Regions from separate parts of the Homo sapiens genome. Here regions 1 and 2 are each linked to region 3. The links are contacts of gene promoters, found by promoter capture Hi-C in blood cells and fetal thymus (Javierre and others, 2016). All regions are on one chromosome and are shown on one strand. Each heading gives the region's core, a stretch centred on a gene start or on the middle of the fragment in contact. The rest is flanking DNA. Distances are from core to core; before and after follow the strand shown.

Region 1 (4,320 bases), core at 1,499-3,998, 850 kb after region 3:
TCTCTGATGCCACATATGGATCAAAAGTTTAATTATGAGAAAAGATATTCTAGGAGGGCTGCCAGAAGGCTATGAAGTCCATCCTTCCCTCCATCAGTATTTCTTAAACTATATTTCATGGAACACTTACAGTGCATATTAATACATTTCATAAGAAAAAAAGATTTTTTAAGGTCAAGTTTAGAAAACATTAGGAGTGAAGGAATTGAACATGCTAATATGCAACATCAGTCACAAGAGAAGAATGTAACAGGCAGTACCATCCAAGCTTATCTGAAAACTTCTTCCAGCATGGCTACTTAGTAACATTCTCAAAAAAATCAATATTCCAATTTTTTTGTTTTTTGGCATACTAGCCCTTAATCAAGTCAGAGAACTGAGTTATTAGATAGCATGGCTTTTTTGTTTGTTTGTTTGTTTTGAGACAGAGTTTTGCTCTTATCACCTAGGCCGGAGTGCAGTGGCACGATCCCAGCTCACTGCAACCTCTGCCTCCTGGGTTCAAGCAATTCTCCAGCCTCAGCCTCCTGAGTAGCTGGGATTACAGAGGTGTGCCACCATGCCCTGCTAATTTTTGTATTTTTAGTAGAGACAGGTTTTCGCCATGTTGGCCAGGCTGGTCTGGAACTCCTGACCTCAGGTGATCTGCCCGCCTCAGCCACCTAAAGTGCTAAGATAATGGGTGTGAGCCACCATGCTCAGCTAGATAGAATGTTTTTTACTAACGTACTTACTTAGACTAATTTGAATTTTGGCATTGTAAGTTATACGTGTGCTACAGGAAGTCACCTGGAGAAATGGGTGCTCCTACTAATAGCTGGTATATATTGAGAAAACTATGCTTTGAGCTGTGTTTGGGTTGAAATTTGAAAAAGTCATCATTTCAATTTTCTTTCATAGTTGGCAAAGAGAAAAATGAGACTGGTGTCGAAGACTCTTCTAACGAATAAAATAGTCTATATATACTGTCGTGTCCAATTAATGTTGTATATATAATAACTTAAGTGAGCAAATTCCACTCCACATAGCCTACAGGTTAAATAAAAGTAAATTTTTTTTAATGTATTTCAAGGCCAAGTGTTACATTCCAGAAAGATTAATATGACTTTTGTATTTAACTCTGAATATCTCAGGTGAAAAAACTCTATTGAATAGTGCAAGAACTTATGAATATCTCAGAAACCCTCTTAAATGGAGCAAGAGACAAGAATCTGTGCAAATTTAAATTTTAAGAGACCCATTCTCCATTTGGCTAATAAACATATTCTTTACGACCTTAAAGTTACTCACATATAAGTGTTTTTTGTCTCCTTCTCTGGTACTTTGAAAAGTTTAAGGACTTGAGATACTAGGATTCTCTTCTCCCATAAATAACGTATTAAGTTTAGCATAATTAAAAATATTGTTAGGTTTGTAATTTCCATTTCCACTATTCTTTTTTTTTGAGACGGAGTCTCGCTCTGCAGCCCAGGCTGGAGTGCAGTGGCCCAATCTCGGCTCACTGCAACCTCTGCCTCCCGGGTTCAAGCAGTTCTCCTGCCTCGCCTCCCGAGTAGCTGGGATTACATGCGCGTGCCACCATGCCCGGCTAATTTTTTGTATTTTTAGTAGAGATGGGGTTTCACCATGCTGGCCAGGCTGGTCTTGAACTCCTGGCCTTGTGACCCGCCTGCCTCAGCCTCCCAAAGTTCTGGGATTACAAGCATTTCCACAATTCTTTAAACCTTATGGATGCTCTATTATAATACTTTGCTTTAAGAGTGGTCTACAAAACCACAGATAAGGCAAAGAAGAATAAAGCAAGATTGTCCCTTAGTGGTTACAATAACTAGGAGTAGGGATTCTGACATTCTTCCAGATTCTTAGGTGTTTACCCCACCTCGACCCATGCAATTTTTGTAGATTTTACAACACTTTCTTATTATTAGTTATGGGAATGACTATTTCAAGTTTGAGCTGTTTCCCAGAATATTTTCAAGAACAAATAACTCTAAAAAAATAACTGGAACTTTTATAGGAATGCATTCCCTGCAGATGTGCATCATCACCTAATATGCAAGGGTTCCACATGCCTCAACAGCTCATGACATTCGAAATCAATGTTTGAGTTTGATAATGTCTTATCTAACTAATTAAAAATAATTTTAACGTGCAAATTTCTTGTAACATCTTAATAGCATAAGAAATTAAAATATAAGTCAATAGCAAACAGAAATGATACAGAGAAACTGAAGCACACAGATGAATATAAATATCCCAATAAAACTTGTTCCGGGCAGCGGGCTGCAGGAATACGTTGCAAACGCAAGAGCAAAACAGGATGCAAACGTGGGAAAAATGGGAAATAAGTGGAGTTAGGACGGACAAAGACTGAGAAAGAGGAAGCAATCCCCTAAAAAGCAGAGAGGTTCCTCAGATGAAGGAGGGCAAAACGTCAACCACCACCTCAGCTCTGTTCTCTACTAATGCCCAAATGCAAGTGCATGGTAGGTAAAGGTGGGTTTTGCTCACACCGTTTTCTTAATTTGGCAAACTACGGTCAGATCCACATTAGCCGTTAAGTTTCCAGCCAGCAGTCCTTGAGAAATTCTCCAGGAAAGAAGACAGCCGTGTCGTCTAGTGACGCGCATGCGCAGTCTCAGCGCTGCGCGCTCCGTGTTTTATCCTACCCAGGCCTGGAAGGAAGTGACGCGAGGCTGAGGGGCGGGTTGCGCTGTGCGTCCGGAAGTGTCTCGCAGATAGTAAATAATCTCGGAAAGGCGAGAAAGAAGCTGTCTCCATCTTGTCTGTATCCGCTGCTCTTGTGACGTTGTGGAGATGGGGAGCGTCCTGGGGCTGTGCTCCATGGCGAGCTGGGTAAGGTGCTTTTTGCGGCCTCTGGGGTGCTAGTGTGAGAGACCAAAGAGAAGGCGATCCGAGCCGGGGCTGGGTGAGCCCGGCGGGAATGTGGTGCCCCACCCAACAGGGAGTGCCCTCTCTGTCCCCGTTTTCTTCCCGTCTCCTCTCGTCACTCAGACTCAGCTTCAGAGCTTTGGGTCTTGCGAAGAACTGATCACTGGCCGTAAGGTTTAGTGGCGATGGGAAGATGACTCAAATTGAGGAAGAGAACTAGAATAGGGCCCCTCCCCCACCCCTGCTTCGTGAACGCTGTCTCCCATTCTTTGAGGTCCCTTTTCGTGGTTTTGTTTGTATCTGCGCAGGCCATCTCTACAAAGGTCTTTGCCCCTTTCCTTCGGTGGGGTACCCACTCTGTTGTCATCTCTTTCCTGGCGACCTCAGACTGCCGCACTGTCGTTCCTGGATTCATGTCGCCCTCTTTGTTCAGTGGCGCAGATTATGATTAAAAAGTGCCTGTCGTCATTTGGAACCGCCTGGCAGTAATGCTAATGTAGTAATATTGTTTTTGAAACAAATAGTCATAGCTCTGCCGTAACTGTTTGAAGTGTCAATTTCAGATTTCAACTTAAAATTGAAATTTCAGATGACACACGCATGCCTTGTGCCTAATGACAATTTTGTCTTTAGGCACAAAACATGCGTGTGTCATCTGAAATTTCATGCTTAATTAGCTGTACATTGCATTTTCATTAAAGAGTTGTTAGAGTAAAACTATTTTCAGTATAGTGGCAAGACTTTGGTCCGTGTGGCACAAATTTCAGTTTATTTAAGATAATCTCTGCCCCCTCCAAAATAGTAGGCAAAACATTGGCAGTGCAGTTAATAAAGATATTTGTAATTTTAGGCGAGGTATTTGGACTCAAATCACTTTTCTTTAGTCTGGAATTTGTTAATTCTGTTTCTAACAATTGCTTTTCTGACTTCCCAAATGATTCCGTTATATATACTCTTAAAGGTTTTGATATGTCTTGAACTAAAAATGTTGAATTTTAATCAAATAATAATGTGGGGATTGTTACTCCAGCCAGTCTGTTCTTTTGATTATATGGTATTTCTTCTTGCACGGAAGCCTGGAATATTTTATCTCAAGATATTAGAGAGTTTAATTATTGACTTTTATACAAAAGAGGCATATTTAGTGTGATAAACAGTTTTGAAAACTGATAATTGATTATCATATAAGATTGTTTTCATCGGTTTTTTATTGGAAGATGTTATGCAATTCAATTTGTAATGTCGTATCTTGTCCAGTTATGAAGTGGGCGTGCTGTAGTTTTTTGTATATAATAGAGATTTAAAAGATGAGATACATGTTTTCCCTTTTACAAAATAGATCGCCACCTTTATTGATTAGAAGAATGTCCGTGATAAAATTGACCCTGCCTTTTAGTTTCTGTGTTAATAGCGAAGTACATTAAAAAG
Region 2 (4,404 bases), core at 168-2,667, 540 kb after region 3:
GTATGTGAACAAGTTTGTCTCCATCCAGGCTAACAACAGACTGAGACCAACAACAAAATGCAGAACATAGCAATAAATACAATTCAGATTTCTGATACGGAAGACGATGTGATTTTTGAAAGAGTTGTATAATTGAATAAATCATGATCAGTTAATTATCCTATTGTTATTTCTATTACTTCTAGATTTTCTATTATGTAAATTTGAATTCATAATTTGATTAAAAAGTATACATCTAAATACAAAAATTTAATATATTAAAAACAAAAATCCTAAACCAGTGCTTTGCAGCTAGTCGTCCCTCTAAAGAAAGCCTTAGAATGAGGCAAACTGTCTATTTAGTCAATCTGAGGCAACCTGGGGAATTAAACAAAATGCAATCTCTCTTTCAAACAAACCTTATTAAATATTTTCTGAAATACAAGTTTGATATAAAATGTGAACAGTATATGGTAAGAGACAAATACAACTGAGATTTATGCTATAGCAAGTACCCATTGTTCAAAATATAACATATGCACATTAAACTAACTTTGGTGTATTTCTCCTTGGATTGAAATACTGAAAATATTCTACACTTTCCAACATCTTAAAAAAAACATGCATTGGAAATCTTTATCTTTATTCCCCTCTCCCCATCCCCACTCTGAAGAAGAAGCAGTTTCTCACCTTACAGTTTCTATCATCTGCAGTGGTTTCATCAAACTCTTCTCCCAGCTGGAAACTAATCTCCGTGTTCTTGAATGTGCTGAGAGTCCTGATGACCACTTTGTCTCCTTCTTGACTGATAATTACCGTTGGTTTGGTCACATTTCCCACCTGCCTAGTGGCAAAGCCCACGCCTAAAATAGCAAAGGGAACAGTACAGTCTGCAGCGACTTCCAAAATAACTCACAAAGCAAGAATCTGCTTTCTGATTCTGGAATCCACGTTCTAAAGTGTAAGTTTCATTAGAACATGATTAGCCCATTAATCATGTAAAACACTACTGTGATAATAAGTGGATGCAGAAGAAAACCAAAAAAGTCAGAGAAGCTTCATATTCTCCACGGAATAGCAAATGTTCTGTTTTTATTGGCCCTGGGTAAGAAGGCAAGCAAGTGCCACATTAAAAATCCATTCAGTGGAAAATGCATAGCCTAGCATCTGATCAGGGCAATGTGATCTGTCTTTGCCTCTTGCTGACCTGATGAGTGAAAAATGGAATCTGCAAATATCTAAAGCTGCACGTTGAGAAGAGAACAGCCGGTCTTATTGTTACCTACCTAGAGCCTTCATGTACTCATCAAAGTTCTGACTGTTGGTCAGCTTCCAGGTAGCACAGAAAGCCTCCACCATCCTTGCCCTTTCCCCTCTTTAGAGACAGGAGCGGGGATCTTCTGGTCTAATTGCCACTGCAGCTCAGAAGACCCTTTACACCTCAGCAAGCAGCTCCTGCCTTCTTATTTGGAAAGAGGGTGGGCAAAAATCCAGTGATTTAAATTGCAAACACACCCCTCCAGTGTCCCTCTTTCCAAGAGGCTGTCACAGAGAGAGGAGAAGGGAAGGAGCGCTCGAGTGAGGCTCCAATCCTCTTTGTGATTGGCTCAGGCCACTGGGTTAGCGGAGTAGGTCGAGTTCCTCCCAATCCTCACACTACAGCCCTTATGCCTGAGAAAGCTCGGCAGGGATTCAATGGGGCTGGAGGCAGGGAACGGGAAAATGAGAGAAGGGCTTTCAGGTTCGGTGAGAAAAAACTTGGCAAAGGCAATCTCAGACTGCAAGGAAAGAAAAAAGATGCACAATGGGGCATTCAGATTGATTTCCGTTAATGACAAAGCTGGTCACAAATGAGGACCCCCCTTAAAGAAAACCACTGAAATGCCAGACTTTGCAGACAAAGGAGAGTGAATAGTGTGTGTTATTTTCTCTCATAGTTACAGGGAGAGCGAAATGCAGGCTAGAGTAGGCCAAACTGAAAAAGAGGGCGGGGAGGAGGTGTAAATGCCTTCCCTGGATATACTGCTTGAAGGCTACTCTGACTGTCAATGAGGAAGCACACTAATTTGGGTCCTTTCCCAACACAAACCGAGAGAATTTAAAGATCCCGTTGTCCTTTCTAAAAATGTGAGAACGAGACTGAGTTGGAAAAGGGACCTAAGGAAGAGTATGGTTAGGACTTACTAATGAGGTACAAAAATAAATAAAAGAATGCTTTTCCCCCCGATCTCCTTGAATAGATTATAGAACCCATGTGGAAAAACTGGACAGAAGATTATTTAGTAAGACTTTAAATTACCTGCATTCTAGGACCTTTTGATTTCCTGAGGCCACATCTACACAAATACAATCTGTGTACATTTGTTGGGAGTTAGTGATGGGGAAGGGCAGGAACTGGAGGAGCGGTAGGAATCAGAAGGGCTTTGGTTTCAGTTTGCCCTGGCTCAGGGTTCCCCAAGAATGGCAAATACCTTGAGGGTTCTAAGTAGAGTATTTAAAGGAAGTCTCTGAAATTCCCCTTCACCCAAAGAGATTCCTTCCTGACTTACTAGTGCTGACCAGCAATGAAAGCAGCTTACCTGCCTCTCCTGGGGACAGAGCAGGAGAATCCGACTTGATATTCCCTGCCCTTCTCTCTCCCCTCCCAATTAAACTGCAGCCCAGCACATTTCTACCCAATCCACACCAGATCCAACAGAGAAGGCTCAGAAGGCCTCCTACGCTAGGTGGCGGCTACATGATTCTTCTTCGGTGTCTCAAGTGCGCTTGTTTAACAAAAACTGTAGTCTTCCTTCACAACTGCTTTTCTTCCAATTTTCACTTTATTTGTGACTGATACCACCATGCACCCAACTGTACAAGCCAGAAACCTCTGAATCATTTCTAATACTTTACCACTAAAATCAAACTTAATGTCAAGGCCTATCTCTTTTGCTTTGCTAACAGAAAAACCAAACTCTGTAAAATGTTTTACAGAAGTTTACTCTGAACCAATATGAGCAACTGAGGCCCAGGGAAAACACAAACCCAAGAAGCCTTGGGAAAGTGGTCCCAAGGTGGTCAGATTACAGTTTGGTTTTATACATTTTAGGGAGCCAAGAAGTACAGTCAAAAACGTAAATCAATACATGGAAGGCATACATTGGTTCAGCTCAAAAAGCTGGGATATCTTGAAGCTGAGGGCTTACAGCTTATAGATGAATTCAGAGATTCTTTAATTTGCACTTGGTTAAAGGAATAAGGCTCTGTCTAAAACTTGGAGTGCACATAAAAAAATTATATTTATTTATTTATTTATTTATTTATTTTTGGAGAAAGGGTCTTGCTCTCTCACCCAGGCTGGAGTGCAGTGGCGCGATCTCAGCCCACTGCAACCTCCACGACTCAAGTGATCCTCCCACATCAGCCCTCTGAGTAGTTGGGACAACAGACATGTACCATTATGCCTGGCTATTTTTTTGTACTTTTAGTAGAGTCAAGGTCTTGCCATGTTGCCCAGGCTGGACATAAATGTTTTATATTAACAAAAGGATGCTCTGTGGCAAGATGAATGGCCTAATTCTTGCCTTGCATTACCTTAGATCTTGTTTATAGTTTGGTGTCTTATTGACACAAAGAGTCTGTTTTGTCAGTTTTATAATCTCTATTTTAACATGAATGCCTGTCAGTTGTGTCTAAACTCCAAAAAGTCAGAAGTATGTCCGACTTCCCTTCCTTTTATGGCCAGGAATTCAGGTTTTAAGGGTTTTTTTGAGGCGGGCATCCCTTGGCCAAAAGGGGGTCTGCTCAGTATGTGGGGGTGCTTAGGATTTTATTTCCAGTTTACAGCTAAAATTCCGATGACTGTTTCATCTAGGCAAACTATTTCTCTAGTAAATGTTCTCAAACAGTTGTTTTGTTACAAATTATTGCTATATGTTTCATCTAATAAAACACGTTTAAAGTGGTAGGATGTGTAAGTATTTTTCTAAAATATAATAAATCATTTTCCTTTTGTATTCTAAGAACATAAAATTGTTGAGAGCAGGAACCATGTATTAGATATCTTCATCTTAGCCCTTTATAGATCACAAGTGCTGAAATATTTGTGCATACCCATTTATTTCTTCCACTCTCTAGATAAAGAATATGAGATGGTGACATATTTATTCGTAGAGCATATATTCCATTAATTCTGATTCCTTTAAACCTTATCAAAAACATGAAAGCCCCACAATTTAGAGGCAGGTTTTTTTGGTTGCATATTAATCTTGTAATAGGCAGAAAAGAATACATGTTGCCATACAGATATCTGTACCAGAAATTTTAGAAAAAGTCAAGTGACTATTTTTTAATTAATCATGTATGGATACATAATAGTTGTGCATATTTATCAGGTACATACGATATTTGGATGCAAACATTACATGAGTAATGATTGAATCT
Region 3 (4,036 bases), core at 1,132-3,631:
TCATTTAGTCTAATTCTAGCCACAAATTCCTGAGATAATTATAATGTTTCCATTTCAAAAGATTAGAAAATGGAAATTTGGAGAGTTTCAGAGATCACATATTAGATTATTTGGTTAAAAAGGAAATAAATTTCAAACTGAGGAATTGTTTGCTTGCTTAGCTTTTGCCTGTTTGTTTGTTTTTCTTCAACTGCAGTGGCAAAAATGATCTCTGCAACTCCTTGACATGAATGAAGTTGAACTATCACTTGAGAATATCATCACCTTGCTTCTTCATTATGCATGGAAGGATTCCTCAGTTCATGAGCAAAGATGATACTAATTCAGAAAGATAATCAGGGAAAATGGGAGCATAGAGAATGCATGAAGTGTCAAGACCATATGGATGTGGCTAAATAAGAGAAAGGAAAATGTTAAACAGTCAGTAAAATATTGAAGTAAAGAAATGTACAGCCAGATAAGATGAAAAGCTATGTAGTAGCAGATGCTGGGTGTTGGTTCACTGTGTGACCTCACCCAAAGTTAGAACAATTTCTTCTTTTGGCAATCTATGAACTGAAGAAGTTCAAAATCAAACTCAAAGGCAGTGAAATCTTGTCTTTTTCACAGTTATATTTATCCGGACCACAAAGCATTGTGTCTGCAGCAGAAGAAATCAGATACCATCTAGTATAGCAGACTGAATCTTTGCAAAATAAGCATTCCTCTTAAGACTTATTTAGGGAGGCTTATCTCATATCTGAAACATTGAAGTCAAGCTATTTGGAGTGACAGTATTTCTATATTCCATGCAGTACTTCCTCATGCAGAAAACAGAATGTGGAAGAGTGTGAGTGTGTGTGTGTGCAGGCACATGCAAAGTGCATCACATTTTCTTTTAAATAATAATATAGTTAGGACCACAACAAAGTTGTGAAATTGCGTGTCTTTGTGTGTAGTAGTGGTAATAGTAGTAATAGCAAGTAGTAGCAACAGGTTTTCATCAAAGTCCAAATATTCAGGAGATCCTGAATAAAAAAAGGTCCAAATGATGGAAAAACCATGGGTTTGGAATAAATGTATGAATGTTGCTTATAACAAATAAAATGTTTTTTTTAATTTTAAAATACGTATTGTATTTAAAATTGGGTTAGAAAAGTGCGAGAAAAGTAGTTTAAAATATCAGTGAAATGATTGACCTCCACCGTTTGCTTTGTACCTGGCACCATTCGAAGTACTTCACGTGTAGTGTTTAATTTTCACAGCAATCCTGTTTGCATTAACGTGAAAATGGAAGCACTGAGAGTTACTTGCCCAGGTCACACAATTGCCTGATGTGGATCCAGAACTGGTGTCTGGCAGTCTGATTTTAGACCTATGTCCTCAGCCACCACGTTTTCCAGACCCCCTCATACTGAAATTCACCTATGGTTGACCAGAGATAACACTGCTAATGTTCCTTTATATATTTTACAGGAGTAGGTTTTGTGACCCGCTTTTAAATATAACAACTTCCCATGTCATTAAATATTGAATACTACTCCAGGAGTGTGTGAGAGAGTTATTCATTTTCTATTAATGCTCAGACTGCTTAGTTTTACCAGCTCAACGTAGGAAACTATATAATACGATTCATGATTTAAAGACTGGCTTGAAAAAAAATAGAAACCTCTGTGATTATACTGTATATGTTAATTATAATCCTAATGACTATTAGTAGTTTGTGTAGATAATACAACATAGATAATATAGACAGACCACTTATAAGAAGTAGAATGTGGTGTGCTATACAGTTTTTATGTATTAAATGCTTCAAAGCTTTTAATTCTATCAGTAGCAACTTTAGTTATAGAAGTGTGTTGAAGTGCTTAAAACTTTGGAAACGGAATTCAAATCCCAGTTTTGCCACTTACTAGGGAGTATATATTTAAACATATTATTAAGTCTCAGTATTGCTATCTGTAAATTGAGTCTAATAATAACATTTACCACATAGGAGTGGTATGTAAGGATTATGTAATTTGTCCATTTTTTCAACAAATATTTGTTGATCTCTCTTCTGTGCAAAGAACAGTCTAAGCACTATCATGTATTAGGGAAAATAAAAAAATCATCCCAGGACTCATGAAGTTTATATGCTACTAGGGTTAGAGAGCTAATAAACAAATGAATATTTAATATTATATCAATAAAATATAGATAACATATATAATATACTTACCTTAGAGACTACCATGTGGCAAATACAAAGTGTCATTGGTGCAAAATAATAATAATGATTATTATTTTATTTTATTCCACATGTGAGATATCTATGTGCTAAAGAAACAACCGTGATAATAACAAAATAAATTGAGAAAAAAATCTATGATATTTAGCTTTTGCCTTGCAAAGTACTTAAAATAGAGGCATTCTGAAAATAATGCAGATTATTGGGATTTATATATTGAATAAATTTATTTCTTTTCTTTTTATGAAGACAAAGCAGAGACTCCTAAACAGAGTTTGTCTCCACTGCTGCCCTTCTGACTTAAGCACTTGCATGCTGAAGTTTTGGTCTGCTTATTCTACTTGAAAACACTATTGATGACATTGAAAAATCACTAATGAAGCTCCCTTCCCCAGGCCCATCAGCAATTTACATTTCACAAATGAAATCAACAGCCTGGAAAAGTCAGTGCTGCATAGGAAATGGCAGGCTGCCTGCCTCAACAACTTAGCATGGGGACTTTTTGGTTCCATATTTCCCCAATGCTTGTACGTGTAGCCCAAAACGAAGGGCTTCAGTGGCAAATGTTTACAGAAATTAGATATTGTATTATTATACAAGAATAATTGTGGTAGAAAACAATTAAACAGTGAAGACAGAATGAAAAATAAATGCTCGCCTGCTGTCTCTCTGGCCTCCCAGTCCCAATGGCCAGTATTAACTAACAACTGTCCTTGGTTTCCTGAAGCATCTCATTATAACTTTTCATTAAGCTTCATATATAAAGTTTATATATATACACACATATGTAAATATATATATAGTTGTTTTTATATGGCTTGAAATAAATCCTAGTTAGAAACTGTAATCTCATATGGCTCAAAAAATACTTTACTGTCAGTAGAAATATCATCTACAAAATGAGTGCACTGAGTTCTTAAAAATCAAGTAGCCTAATAAAAGAGCTGCTCAACTTAGAAAATCCGTTGCCACTTTCTCACATATCAATTCCTGCCTTGAGTATTCAAGGGTAAAATCCCAATTCTGTTTAAAAAAAAAAGAGAAAATTACTTTGAAAGATCATGCAATTTAAGTTTATGAGCATAATTTAAAAATAGCTAAGCTCTTTATATACATCACTTCTAATTCTCACATCAATTTTACATTATTTTCTCCATTTTAGCAATGACAGAATGAAGACTTGAGGTTTTAAGTAATGCCCAAGGTCACAAAACTTAGGAAATGAGCTTGCTTTTAAAGTCAGATTATAAAACCCAAAAACCGACTCTTCATACACCAAAAGAACTTGTCCTAAGGTCATCTTTAGCATTACTGTTCACATAACACTAAAGCCAGTAGTTCTATTCTAGTAAGAGGGCCCACAGCCACACGTTAGATAATACCTTTTCATAGGAGTGCTTACAAAATTCTGTGTACAAGATCGAAGTTGGTTCTGGTTGTATTGTACCCATAGTTGGTATAAATATTCTCCACAATTTTTATTTTTTCCAAAAGATCGTTTGACAAACATTAAGGCTGAGAAGATTTCATTTCAAGATTACAATATGATTGACAGGAGTGAAAGCCGTGTGCAGAGTGGGAAGCAAGGCTGTTTCAAATAGATACCTATTATTGATGAGCAAAATGCTAATGAACTGTGTCCTAGGAAGAAAAGATTTAAATTTGTGGGAATTCATTTCTAAGAAATCCAAATATTCAAATTAGCCATACTTCGGAAACAGAACTAAGAAGGAGACCAAGATCATTCTATCCAGACCTTGGGATATGACCCGGGTGAAGGGAAATAGGTTGGGAAAATGGAATCTTGGTTCTGCCACTTAGCAGCTG

The links. The method cuts DNA at HindIII sites, captures the fragments that hold promoters and counts their contacts. A CHiCAGO score of 5 or more calls a contact.
Region 1: the fragment with the promoter of SERINC1 here is called in contact with a fragment that was not itself captured in region 3 in 1 of 17 cell types (total CD4 T cells); the score reaches 5.7 in total CD4 T cells.
Region 2: a contact is called between the fragment with the promoter of FABP7 here and a fragment that was not itself captured in region 3, in 1 of 17 cell types (monocytes). The highest score is 5.3, in monocytes.

What each region holds. Positions count from the first base shown.
Region 1 is chr6:122,470,235-122,474,554 of GRCh38, reverse strand. SERINC1 (serine incorporator 1) reads left to right here and starts at 2,748. Exons shown (of 10, transcript NM_020755.4): 1 at 2,748-2,856. The coding sequence starts at 2,818. It also overlaps a transcript of PKIB not described here. RefSeq lists enhancers at 2,589-2,648, 2,699-3,098. The HindIII fragment of the contact is 8,379 bases long and covers 271-4,320 here.
Region 2 is chr6:122,776,729-122,781,132 of GRCh38, reverse strand. It overlaps FABP7 (fatty acid binding protein 7), which reads right to left and starts at 1,417. Exons shown (of 4, transcript NM_001446.5): 1 at 1,266-1,417; 2 at 670-842; 3 at 1-40. The coding sequence starts at 1,338. The HindIII fragment of the contact is 5,682 bases long and covers 1,038-4,404 here.
Region 3 is chr6:123,318,435-123,322,470 of GRCh38, reverse strand. All of the region lies in intron 23 of TRDN (triadin), which reads left to right. The region is part of intron 1 of LOC124901393 (a long non-coding RNA gene); the gene reads right to left. Among named protein-coding and RNA genes, the nearest start is that of TRDN-AS1, 120 kb to the left of the region's middle. The HindIII fragment of the contact is 1,164 bases long and covers 1,800-2,963 here.